Linked DNA regions of Homo sapiens: all the other regions are linked to region 3. Evidence: promoter capture Hi-C in 16 types of primary human blood cells and fetal thymus (Javierre and others, 2016). All regions are on one chromosome and are shown on one strand. Each heading gives the region's core, a stretch centred on a gene start or on the middle of the fragment in contact. The rest is flanking DNA. Distances are from core to core; before and after follow the strand shown.

What was found. Contacts are between HindIII fragments. The CHiCAGO score rates a contact against its expected background, and 5 or more counts as called.
Region 1: a fragment that was not itself captured here is called in contact with the fragment with the promoter of CCDC91 in region 3 in 2 of 17 cell types (naive B cells and non-activated CD4 T cells); the score reaches 8.3 in naive B cells.
Region 2: a contact is called between the fragment with the promoter of FGFR1OP2 here and the fragment with the promoter of CCDC91 in region 3, in 1 of 17 cell types (non-activated CD4 T cells). The highest score is 5.4, in non-activated CD4 T cells.
Region 4: the fragment with the promoter of TM7SF3 here is called in contact with the fragment with the promoter of CCDC91 in region 3 in 1 of 17 cell types (naive CD4 T cells); the score reaches 5.3 in naive CD4 T cells.

What each region holds. Positions count from the first base shown.
Region 1 is chr12:29,373,720-29,376,464 of GRCh38, reverse strand. The region is part of intron 1 of ERGIC2 (ERGIC and golgi 2); the gene reads left to right. Among named protein-coding and RNA genes, the nearest start is that of ERGIC2, 6.1 kb to the left of the region's middle. The HindIII fragment of the contact is 2,633 bases long and covers 1-2,606 here.
Region 2 is chr12:26,937,204-26,940,350 of GRCh38, reverse strand. It overlaps FGFR1OP2 (FGFR1 oncogene partner 2), which reads right to left and starts at 1,881. Exons shown (of 7, transcript NM_015633.3): 1 at 1,641-1,881. It overlaps INTS13 (integrator complex subunit 13), which reads left to right and starts at 2,370. Exons shown (of 17, transcript NM_018164.3): 1 at 2,370-2,555. RefSeq lists a silencer at 1,448-1,517 and enhancers at 1,047-1,555, 1,778-1,827, 1,556-2,065. The HindIII fragment of the contact is 20,390 bases long and covers 1-3,147 here.
Region 3 is chr12:28,189,034-28,191,825 of GRCh38, reverse strand. It overlaps CCDC91 (coiled-coil domain containing 91), which reads right to left and starts at 1,370. Exons shown (of 13, transcript NM_018318.5): 1 at 1,185-1,370. LOC729291 (a long non-coding RNA gene) reads left to right here and starts at 1,088. Exons shown (of 1, transcript NR_148936.1): 1 at 1,088-2,792. RefSeq lists silencers at 1-210, 894-1,323, 1,354-1,403. The HindIII fragment of the contact is 1,439 bases long and covers 570-2,008 here.
Region 4 is chr12:27,013,049-27,015,901 of GRCh38, reverse strand. It overlaps TM7SF3 (transmembrane 7 superfamily member 3), which reads left to right and starts at 1,518. Exons shown (of 12, transcript NM_016551.3): 1 at 1,518-1,824. The coding sequence starts at 1,734. RefSeq lists a silencer at 1,326-1,825. The HindIII fragment of the contact is 5,016 bases long and covers 1-2,509 here.

The DNA.
Region 1 (2,745 bases), core at 41-2,540, 1.2 Mb before region 3:
TGAATGCTATAGGATAAATGCCATCAGAGCATGAATTCCAAAGGATGATAATGGAGTGGGGGAGAAGCATATTGAATGATCTGGGTGCTGAAGTCATTAAGCAAATTATGAATATATTCAGATGTTAGTGGAATATAGCAACAAGTACGGAAGTGAGAATCAGTGTGTACTGTGGTTTGGAGCATAGTTTCAAGTTCTACCACCTGCTATGTAGCCTGGGAAAATTATTTGACAGTTCTGTGCCTCATTTCCTCATCAAAAAGTAGGATTAAAAATAGTACCTGCTGCTTCATAGAGTCATTTACAAGATTAAATGAATTAATGTTTAAAGAGCTTCAAATAATACATAGCACAAAACATGAGAGATGGTTGAGAAATATGGTAAAACATGATACTTCTGTAACCTGTGAGTCTCAGAAATGACTAAGGATTGGAATGGAACTGCTGCCAATAGAAAGTCAGGTTTTATAAAGAGAGCAGACAGCAATTTCTTTTAGAAAAGCTAGAAGTTATTGGATACCTTGTTTATGCCAGACAGTGACTTTTACAGTAGGTTGGCAAGTATGCAAAATGGAATGAATTTCTTGGAGGTAGGTTAGTGCTGAGCTTTCAGGAATGGGACTGGTGGAGTAGCTGAGGGGCGAGGTGCTCCATTCTAGAGTGATATCCCCTGGAAAACAGGGATGGAGGAAGCTAGAGATGGGTAGGGAGCCACATGATATATTCCAGCTAGACTTTCAAGGGAGGAGTGTTGAATAGGTTGTATGTATTATTAGGAGATTTGTAAAACTAACTGCTTGCCGTATCTTTATGCTTATATATAAATTAAAAGAGCATTTAGAAAGCTCATTATACAAATATAACATTTATATAAACTTTTAGAAATGTAATTCACTGTTTTATTCATTTGTTTAACAGTGCTATACTGACTATGTGATGGCCACTGTTCTAGGTCCTGGGACAGTAGACAACAGGAAAATCCTTCTTGTGGATCTTATTTTTATATATTTACTTACCTAAGTATGACATACTGCTGTGATTTGAAAGATGTGCTACTGTGGTGTTTCTGGGAAAATTTCCTTCCTTCCTTTTCTCAATAAATATTGAATACCTGTTCGCTAGGCATTGGAGATACAAAGATCAAGTTAGACATGGTTCCTGCTCTAACAATCCGGTGGAGGAAACAGAAAAAGAGGCAATTAGAAATAGTGTGATAAAGGTACAACGTTCTAGAAGCAGATAGACTTTGAAGGCCATGGAAAGTTTTTTTGTTCCCCCTGCTTGCTCAAGGTAGAGATGAGTAGACTGGACCTTGAAGAGTAAGTAGGAGTTAGTCAAATGTAGAGATGCGGTAGGGGGAAGAAAAAATATTTCTGGCAAAGAGAATAGGATATTTAAGGAATTGAAAGTGATTTAATATGGTTGGAACGTAGACTGTGAGTGATTGGGTTTGAAGAGAGGTTAGCAGGACCTGGTTTTTGAAGGGCTTTGTAAAACATGTTAGGATAGAATCCAAGCTCTTAAGTGTAGTGGGAAGGGAAGTTTTACAAAGATTTGAAGAGAAATATCAGATTTATGTATTAAAAAGATAATTTATTATTACAGTATAGAGAGAGAATTGGAAGGTTGAAGATTAGAGGTTGTTGAAGCAATGTAGTGATAGATTGTGGCAGTTGGGACTAGGAACATACTTGGACATAAGGAATTTCTCAGTAGGCCTGAAGAAGAGAAGACAGGCAGATTTAAGAGAAATTTAGAAATAGCTTAAGTCTAAAGATATAACCCATGTTTCTGGCTTGTGTAGTTGGGCTTATGGTGTTATCATTAAGATAGATACAGGAGGAACAATTTTTACAGGGTGAAGTATTCATTTTTGGACTTGTTGAGTCTGAATTGTGTTTGGAATGTCCAAATGAAAAGGTAACAGAAGGCAAGGGGTTATACATATCTGCAGAGAGATCTGGGCAGAGAATCAAGATTTGGGATAAATCAACATGCAGATTGAAATGGAAGGAGTGGGCGATCATTTGGGGAAGGTGTGGAGGTTAAGGGGGAGACCTAGTGCAGAATCTTGAGAGAAAGATGAATTTGCACAGTAAGCCAAAGAGGGTTTTCCAGGTAGAATGAAAATTGGGGATGTGATATCACTTAAGTCAAGGTAAGAGAATGTTTCGAGAAGAAAAAGAAGTGATAAGCAGTGTGTTTTCTCAGAGGTGCAGTTAGATAAGGACTGAGGAGTGTCTGTCAGTACTAAGGAAGTTAATTACCTTGCTCAGAGCAAATTTAGTTAAGAGGTGAGAGTTGGGTGAGGAAGTAGTCACAGTAGATGAATGGGGACAACTCATTCTTTTAAGTTGGCTGTAGGTGTGCTGCGAGAGATGTATTGTTGGAGTTGGACTTGAGTTTAAGGGAGAGTTCTGTTTTAAAGAGAAGAGACATACAGATATTTAATATTTTACTCAAATCAGAAAGAGTAGAAATTGAAAGATTGAAAAAGGGTCAGTTTTTGTGCAGTTACTACTAAAAAGGTACAGAAAATAAATTTGATTATCAGAGCTAAACAAGTTTAGCGGGCATGGCATATACATAACAAACATTCAGAAGCTTAATTTATCGATGGGAATACCAGTTTTATAACTGACGTGGGGGTCAGAAAACTGTCATCTGTTTTGTCTATGACATCTATTTTTTTCTTTCGAATACTAAGTGCATGGGAAAAAAATCATAATTCGAAGGCTGCTTTGT
Region 2 (3,147 bases), core at 632-3,131, 1.3 Mb after region 3:
AAATTAATTTTTAAACTTGGAAGAAAGATTTTGGAAGTAATGACACTGGAGGATTTTTTTAAAATTACACGTTCCCTTAGAATTGTGGCTGAATATAAGTTTCACATACATATGTTCAAAGAGTTGTGACAGTTCAAGAAGGAACTAACCTAATCTAAACCAGTTATTTCTAACCTACAGGCTAAGGAGTCAGTAGAAGAGTTGCCTGAATGCACATACTCCAAGCACTGTCTGTAGTCTAAAACATTTCTGCTCCATTTCTCAAATATAAATAGATACTGTAAAAATAAAATACAAAATCATTTAAAAGCATAGTAGTTTTCTGTCATTATACATAATTTCAACCAACAATTACTAAAAGTCCAATTGCATGTGTATTAGAAGTACAGGGTTTCTCATAATCAAAATAGGTCGGGACCTTTAAGCTAATGTACAGAGTTCCTTCTGGCCCAAAATTCTATGATTTTAAAGGATGAAGAACTCTTACGGTGAATTCCTTAGAACTATTCCATTTCAATAAACATACATATGTATATATAAATAATGCTTGCTATGTGCCAAGTACTGGACTTTTTCTCAGAGATGAGTAAGACATGATTCCAGACAGACCCAGGTTCAAATTGGCAGGAGAGACAGAAACAAATAATACAACCTAATAAATACTGCAGAAGAAAAGTTTCAAATGCGTTGGGAGCACAGCGGTATCAATGTCACCTGGGGGAGTCTGAGAAGACAATGATTTATGAATTGGGTTTTGACAGGTGGTAAAATAGAGGAACAGTAAACATCCTAGACATCCGCACGTACAAAAGTACAGAGCTGTCAAAGCGCATGGCATGTTTGGGGAAATAGCCAGTATAGTCTTGTATGGTAGGATATTAAAGCAGGACTAAAAGGTAAAATGGATTGGGGCAGACTGTAAAAGATCCTGAATGATGATGTGCTTAACAATTAGGATTTGATGCTGTCAGCAATACGGTTACTAAAAAGTTTAAGGAAAGGACAGAGATAAATATGTATTTCAGAATAACTCTATGGAAGGATTATAGTAGGGAAACCAGTGGAGGGCGGGGGGCAGAGGGGGCAACCGCACTAATTCTGGCGAAAAAAAAAATAATACAGTGCAGTGTTAAGTGGAAATGAAGAACCAATGATGATTCCTGGTTTTCTAGTTCGGATAGCAGGACAGATACTGGAACCATTATCAGAGATGGGATAGAGAAGAAAGGCAGGAAGAGAACCAGAAAAGAGTAATACCCCTTGGAGAGCAGTTTCAAGAAACAAGTTATCTTCATTAAACGCTGCAAACAGGTGACTGAAAGGGTCCCCCGTCCGGTGGTGAACTCGCAGGTGGGTAAGGCAGGATGAAAGCAGATACGGAAGGTGTGTCCACAGGGTTAGAGCCAAGGCTTTTCATTGAACTTTCCGCACCGCATCTCCATTAAGAGGAGCTCGGAGTCGGGGGGCGCGGAGAGGAAGTCCGGCTCCCAGGAGCAGGGAGCCCGCGGCGGGAAGCGGACAGGGCCGGGCGCCGGTGGTTCAAGAGGCGCAAGGCACCGGCCCCGGCGAAGGACTGCCCCGGCAAAGGACGCCTCCGACTCGCCCACCCCTGCTCCCGTCCCTGGATTTAGTCCACTTACTCTGCTCTTAGTCCCTCGCAGCCTTCAGCTGTGGCGATGCGGACTCAAACCCTCTACCAACCGGGACCTATGCACTCAAGGGAAGAGACTCCGCGCCCCCCTAATCCGCCTCCTCAGCAAGCAGACGCAGAATCGGACGGAGGCAGCGGACGGAAGGCCGGGAAGCCAGTGGCGTTCAACGCCATCACCGGCGGGGTAGACACCTCCGCCGACCGCCTCCGACCGGCGCTCCCGGAGAACTCCAGCCTCGCGAGATTTCTTTCCTCGCGTTACTGTGGGGCAGAACCGACCACTCTCCGCTTTGCCCCAGAAGGCAGGGCGGGGCCCTTCTATGTCCCTCCCTATTCCTCCCTTCCCAGGCTTTCGCTCGGCCTCTCGCAAAGTCTCGCGAGTTTTTCCAGGGGAAACCGGCCTGGGTGGAGAGACAGAGAAGGGGAGACCGGGTGGGTGGGTCGTACGCTTAGGGGGCCGTGGTTGGTACTTCGCTGTTGGGGAGGCTTTCAGGTCGCCCAGATCCTGCTTCCCAATGGGTGACTGGGAAAATTAGCGGGTGGAAAATCTCGAGGGGTGGAGGCTTTTTTTTTCCTCCTTGGCCCCGCCCTCTTCCTGTTCGGCGACTGGGACGCCTGGCCCTACGAGGGGGAAGGGAGGCTTGGCCGGGCTATCGGAGAGCGCTGTGCGCACGCGCGAGCCCGAGTGCGTGTGTGTGTGTGCACGCGCACGCGCGCTCCTGCTCTTAGGAAGCCTGGGAAGGACCGGTGTGCTAGGAGATGATCGGGGAAAGCATAGTCCCCTGTCTGTGGCACCAGACACTCCCGACTGTGCGCTGACTCTCCCCGCCCAGCCAGCAGCCTTTTCCAGAGAGGCTGTGGTCCATAGCCTCTGTTCGTTTTCACTGCAGGACCAGGCACGAAAGTAAGCGAACCTCGATCCTGAGGTCTTCCCTATCCACTCACCTTGTATTTTCCACCCCCCACCCTCCAGCAAAGTGGGTCTAGAAGGTTTCTCAAAGAGAGTTTTGCATGAAGGGGAGATGCGTCTTGAAAGCAAGAGGTGAAAATAGCTGGATCGTAAGAAATCAGTTCGTTTTGATTTAACACTTTGGCTTTGCTTGCCATGTGCTTTTCGAATGTGGATTGTCTATTCAGTATAAGATTTTGTTAGCGAAGCAGGGGAGTACCGTATGCTCTGTTTTAATAAGAAAAAGTTTTAAAAGTTTTAAATTTCCTTCTACACACCAGTGTGATGGTAACAACTAAGTTTTTCTGCTCTACCTGGTAAATTACTGTGATGTTTCAAAAGCTAAGGGGAGAGTGTGAAGTTGGGGTCCTTATCCTAAGGCGAAGACCTGATGTGCGGTTATCTTAGGAGATGTTTATCTTTGTTTTGGCCTTTTCTTTTGCTGTCACTCCTCTTTCCTGTTAATTCCGCACCCCTACCCGCCAGTCCCCCTTCAAACGTTTTTCTTGGAGGGAAGTGCAAAAATGCTGGCTTGGGGTTTATATGT
Region 3 (2,792 bases), core at 121-2,620:
TCTGCCTGGCATGACCCTTACTACATTTACCTAATAGGTACAGACAGTATAACCAATCCCCTCAACGCAATAGAAATTGTAGCAGAGGGCAATCAGGTGATCATTAAGTGTAGAACTCTCCGACAGCAGGGAACACAACAGCGAATTTGTTGTCAGTCCCTGTCACCCCACCCAACTAAATATTGTGGGGGGGGGAAGGGTTGCCTTAAATTGTGAAGTAAAATGTCAGCCCACTCCAATAACTCCACCACGCAACATGCAAACTGCTTCCAAAAACCATCATCCAACTCCCACCCGGATTAATATTTGGAGAGAAAGGTGGCATCAGTATCCGCACAGCTGAGAGGGGAGGGAAGGAAAGAGTCAGAATTCATAAGGGGCCGCTGAGTCACCTAAAATTGTGGCCAAGACTTTACCCTCCAGGAAATCGAGCTCTGCCCCAACTCTCATCAAGGAAGCAAGTGAGAGTAGCAGCAGCAACATCATCCTACCAAAAAAACACCAGCGCAGCTTTTAATAGAGTTCCACTCCTTAAAGTGAAGCCAAAAATAGGTTTCATGTCCAAAGCTTTCCTCCGCAGTAGGCGACACGCGCAGATGGAGAAAATATCTTTATTGTTGGGAAAGGGAGGCGTGCTAACGGGGACGAAGGATACCTCACCACTTGGCAAAGTTACTGGCTCCTGCCTTGACCCTGAAATGCCACTTTTATTGCAACATGTGGCCCAAGAAACTCTAAGGAAATGTGGCTGGCAGACGCTGTAGAGCTTTTACCCCAATGTACTTGGCAAAGTAAAAGGGGATACATAAACCAGGCGCGTTCTGTGTAATCTAAGCAAGAATCAAGGTCTCCGTTCGGTAGGCGCTTCGGTGACACAATAATCACGTGTTCGTGGGCGTAGACTTTCGAAAACACTCGATTCTGGGACGTGCAGATACCGGTACCCACCGGCGAGCGCAGGAACGAGTGGGCACTCCCACCCCCGGGAGCTGGCTCCGTTCCCGCAGGAGGTTGGTCACGCCCCCTGACTCCTGGTCGCTGCGACAGCCAAGGGCGAGGCCGCAGCAGGCGGGCTGCAGGCGGCGGAAGCTCGTCCGCGCTCCTCCCCCGGTGGGGCGCTCTCCGCTCGCCTCGCGCGGCCCCGACCCCAAGACCCAGGCCCCGGAAGGCGAGCGTTCACTTACCTGCTCCCCTCTCTCGCTCTCCGCTGCCGCCGCTGCGCCGCTCACCCACGCTGCCCGGTGAGCCACCCCCAGCACACAGACCCCTACGCGTACACCCGAGGCACGGCCCCAGGCCCTTGAGGGGAGACCGCGGCCCAGCCACACAGGTTGGGGTAGCCCACGCACCACCCGGCTTCGAACACCTCTGCCCCCGGAAGTTGATTTCCGCCAAGGCCCGCCCAACACAGCGCCCGTCACTCAACGTAAACACGCGCGTCACGTGGCCCCAGGCCGAGGCCCGGGTCGGGGCCCCATGTTCAGAGCCCTGCCACCCCAGCTTGAGCGTGGTCTTTGGAGCGTTGCCCTGTGAAAAGGGGTGACTTTGCCATGCTCCTTCCCAGTCTACCTCCTGTTAGTTACAGTTTCTCATTCCTCTTGAGTAGCAGGCCCTGTTTCTCCACCTAATCCCTGCAAGTAAACCGTCCCCCAAATCAAAATGAGTTCCATCTGGAACTTTGTAGGATTGGTCCTAAGAAGATCCCGCCGAATCTCTTCACCACTTCCTAGCAGAGCACAGTAAAACCGGGGACTAAGCAAAGTGGCTGACATGTAGTAAGTGCTCAAGAAATGGATGTTGACTAGATGCTACCTCTCATCTTTGCCTGTCTGAACTCTCAAGCACCGGATGCAAGTAGACTGAGAGCCTCCGCCAACCAGTAAGATGACTTTGGTCAAAGAATTCTGCTCTAGAGTTACTTTTGTTCTTGTCTTCAACTCCAGATCACAGCAATTCATACGTGCCATCTCTGTTGCAGAGTTTTCTTGCAAAGCCTTTCTTAAAAGCTTTCTGTCAAATAGCTTGTCCTGAAGCAATAGGAAAAGAATAGCGTAATTCACAGATTATTTATTTGAAAGGAAGGAATGATTATATAGATGTCTTTGTCCATTTCAGACTGTCAATAGCGATGAGAGAAACAGTCAACTAGCAGTCCACTCGTGAATGTTTCTTCTGTTTTTGCCATGGAAGGATTTTGAAGAACATTCATTCAACAAATTTTTATTGATTGTATACCACATACCTAGTCCTGGGCCAAGTTTTGACAATTCAAGAGTGAGCAAGGTAACACTCAAGATATTTGTCTTCAAGAAGCTTACAGTCTAGTGAGAAAGAAAGACACTAACCTGGGGACTTTGAGCATAAATCTCTGGAATATTCACATTCCTTGTATAACAAGTATTCTTTCATCCTTGGACACTGGGTTTCTCATCTGTTGAACAAAATTGGCTTAAACCTGTAATCTCTGTTCTGTACTGGAAGTGGAAAATATTAGCAAGGCATCCTGACAAGTCTGCCATAAGTGCTGGCCTAAGTAGTTAATGAGCAGTTTCAGTATTGAGCAAGTCACCTTGACTACATTCTTTTTCCAGCCCACCCCCTTCTTTATGCATACAAAAAACATTTCTATTGTAAGAAATGTAATGCTTTCTTACACATATTTTTTTATCTGTCTACTAGACTACCAAGTCAAGGACCACTTCTCACTTGTATATCCAGCAATCTACTCACTTCTCATTTGTCTTTGTGTATCCAGCAGTCTAGCAAAGTGTCTAGTAGTTAGAAAAAAGGTA
Region 4 (2,853 bases), core at 269-2,768, 1.2 Mb after region 3:
AAAAAAAAAAGAGCGCCCTCTTCTGCTAGCTCTTTTATGGTTTTATTACTTTGGGATTTTGTTTTCACAATTAGTGTGAGATAGAGTTCTGCTTCTCTCTGCCCATAGTGCAGCTAATCAGTTAAGAACACAATTTATTGAATAATCCATCCACTGATTCAGATGCTACCCTTATCATAATTGTCCCTTTCATCTTCCTTGGATTTCATCTACTGAGGGTTATAGGAATAGGGGCATGTGGGAGAGTGAATAAGCACTACAGAAATAGATAGTGCTACCAAAGGTGTGAAAATTTGGACCAGGCAGTGGGAAAGCAGAGAAAGAATTGTGCCTATGACAAAGATTATTTGCTTGGCCAAACTCTAGTACGGCTTCTGAATCTTCTGCTAGGTCCATCTGTGCACTTCTTTGTAAAAATCCAGTTTTAGCAAAGAACCCCCTTTCCTCCATATCTAATCAGTTTTCTCACCCTGCACCATCCCCCAGGTGATGTTATGTCTTCAGAAGTCCTGTTAGGTCAGTTTCACCAAATGCCCCTTACCTCTGATGCTTCCTCTTAGTAATTTTCCATCCACTGAACTCCATACTGCTGGTTGGCTATAAATTCCCTCTTGCCCACGCTGTATTCGGAGTTGAGCCCAGTCCCTCTTCCCCACTGCAAGACCCAGTTGCAGTGGTCCCTATGCCAATTGAGACAGTCCTCAATAGTCTTCGTTCGGTGCTTTAACAAGTATCATTGAATAATTTTGTCTTTAACACTTCTTCACATTATGGTCACAGCTATATATTGTTAGCTTAGTAGTGGACTAACTGAACATGTAATTTCCAAGCTATAAGTTGCTCATCAAAATATATAAGTGAAAAAAATTAAAACCAGGGAAGGAAAGCAAGACAATCCTCCCCAAATAACGTTAAGTCTATGCGTCTAATTCCACATCATCGATGAGCCATCTGTCACATGGACTACTGTCCCTCAAACAGCACTCAGGTATGAGACTTGAGACGAAGTTCAGACCAAGGCCGTGTCTTCGAGGATATTTCGCTTAGAGAAAACGAAACTACTTTTAAATGTAGTGCTTATGACTAGTGCGGTAACCACTACACAAACAGCATTCTCCTGGCATTTTTATGCTAACATAAGCCTCAGCAGCGAAGACAATTGCTACCGGGGGAAATAACCTTCAATTGTGTTTTTAGCAACTGATTCCTCTTTTTTGCTGTTGTAAAGGGCCGTTAAACACGGAAACAGGAGCCTGGCGACGTTAGTCCGCAACAGAAAGTTATTTTGTACTTTCACAGTGGGTTTGCCTACTTGGTGAGATAAAAGTGGGGCAAGACCGGGCCTCAAGCCAGGACTTCCTGGGGGCTCCCGGGAGCACCGCAGGCTGCGCGTTCCCCGCGCGCCGGCAGGAGGCGCGCGCTGCCTGGAAACGCCCCAGCGCCGCCCGCGCCCAGAGACCCGCCGCTGTGACGCAGCGAGAGCCCGGGAGGAGGCGCGGGAACGCGCGTTGGGGGTCAGGTGCCGGAAGAGGAAACCTCTCGCTGGGGCTAGGAGTTCGGCGGGGCGCGCGCCGGCGGCTGCGGAGCTGGCAGGTGCGAAGCGTCTGCACCTGGCGGGCGATGGCGCCCGATGCGGGCGCCCCGGGATAGCGTGGGCGAGGCTGCGGGGCCCCGGCGCGCACGCCCGCACCTCTCCCCAGCCCTGGCGTGGGCCCAGCCCGGCCCAGGCAGCAATGGGGTTCCTGCAGCTGCTGGTCGTAGCGGTGCTGGCATCCGAACACCGGGTGGCTGGTGCAGCCGAGGTCTTCGGGAATTCCAGCGAGGGTAAGGTCGGGGCGCCTGGCTTCTGCAACCCAAAGTTGCTTTTGCATTTCTTGCGAGGTCAAAATCCGCCAGGGGTCTGTCAGCCTAGCAGGGAGATGGTGCTGGGGGCGTTGGTACACGCTGGGTGGTGAGTCCAGAACCGGCACGAATGGTGTTTCCTGCAGCGGAAACACTCATGGCTAAGGAGGTCTTACTATTAACCTCCTCATTTAGCGGAGGAAATGGGAAGAGATAAATAATTCTCTTTTTTTAACACAGTATTATCTCCCTTAGGGAGCAGCCATGTTTGTGGCTTTAATTCAACTTACTAAAGCGCCTCTTTGCTGCCCAGTGGACTGTCTGAGCTTCTGGACAGCAAGACTTGGGGTGGAACTAGCGGCTTAATGACTGATGGCTCTCAAGCTGCATGGAATTTTTACACCCCCAAATCTAGAGGCTTTTCAAACTGGTTATGTTCTACAGAGTTTGAGAGGGAAAATGAACCCATAATGAGGCTTTATTTTTAAAGAGCCTTTACCATCTAATTTATTAATACCATCTGGAGACAGGAAAACATTCCATACTCACAATGAGAAATAAAGGACTTTCTGAATTACAGATACATAGACATACAGATAGAATGTGTATACCCTCAATTCTACAAGTTCAGCCACAAATGAAAAATAAACACAGAAACACAAAAGCTTGCCAGTCCAGGTATCAGAGTTGTTCTCCTTACTTGAGGGCAAGAAATTTCTAATCGATTTGACCTTAAAAAAGACAAATGGACAAAAACTGTGTTCTCTGTTGTCTCATATCCAACAGGAAATAGATCTCTATGAGATATTAATTCGTTTACAGAGATCACAAAATTCCCAATCATTGCAGCTACCAACAGGAAATAACTTGTCATCCATAAATGAACTGTAAAAAATAACAATTTAATAGAGAGTAAAACTAAAATGAGAAAAACAAGAATCAACGAAGTTCTATTGCCACTTCAAATTCACCTGTGGGAGCCAAGAAGCAACATGCCCGGGCTTGGCTCCC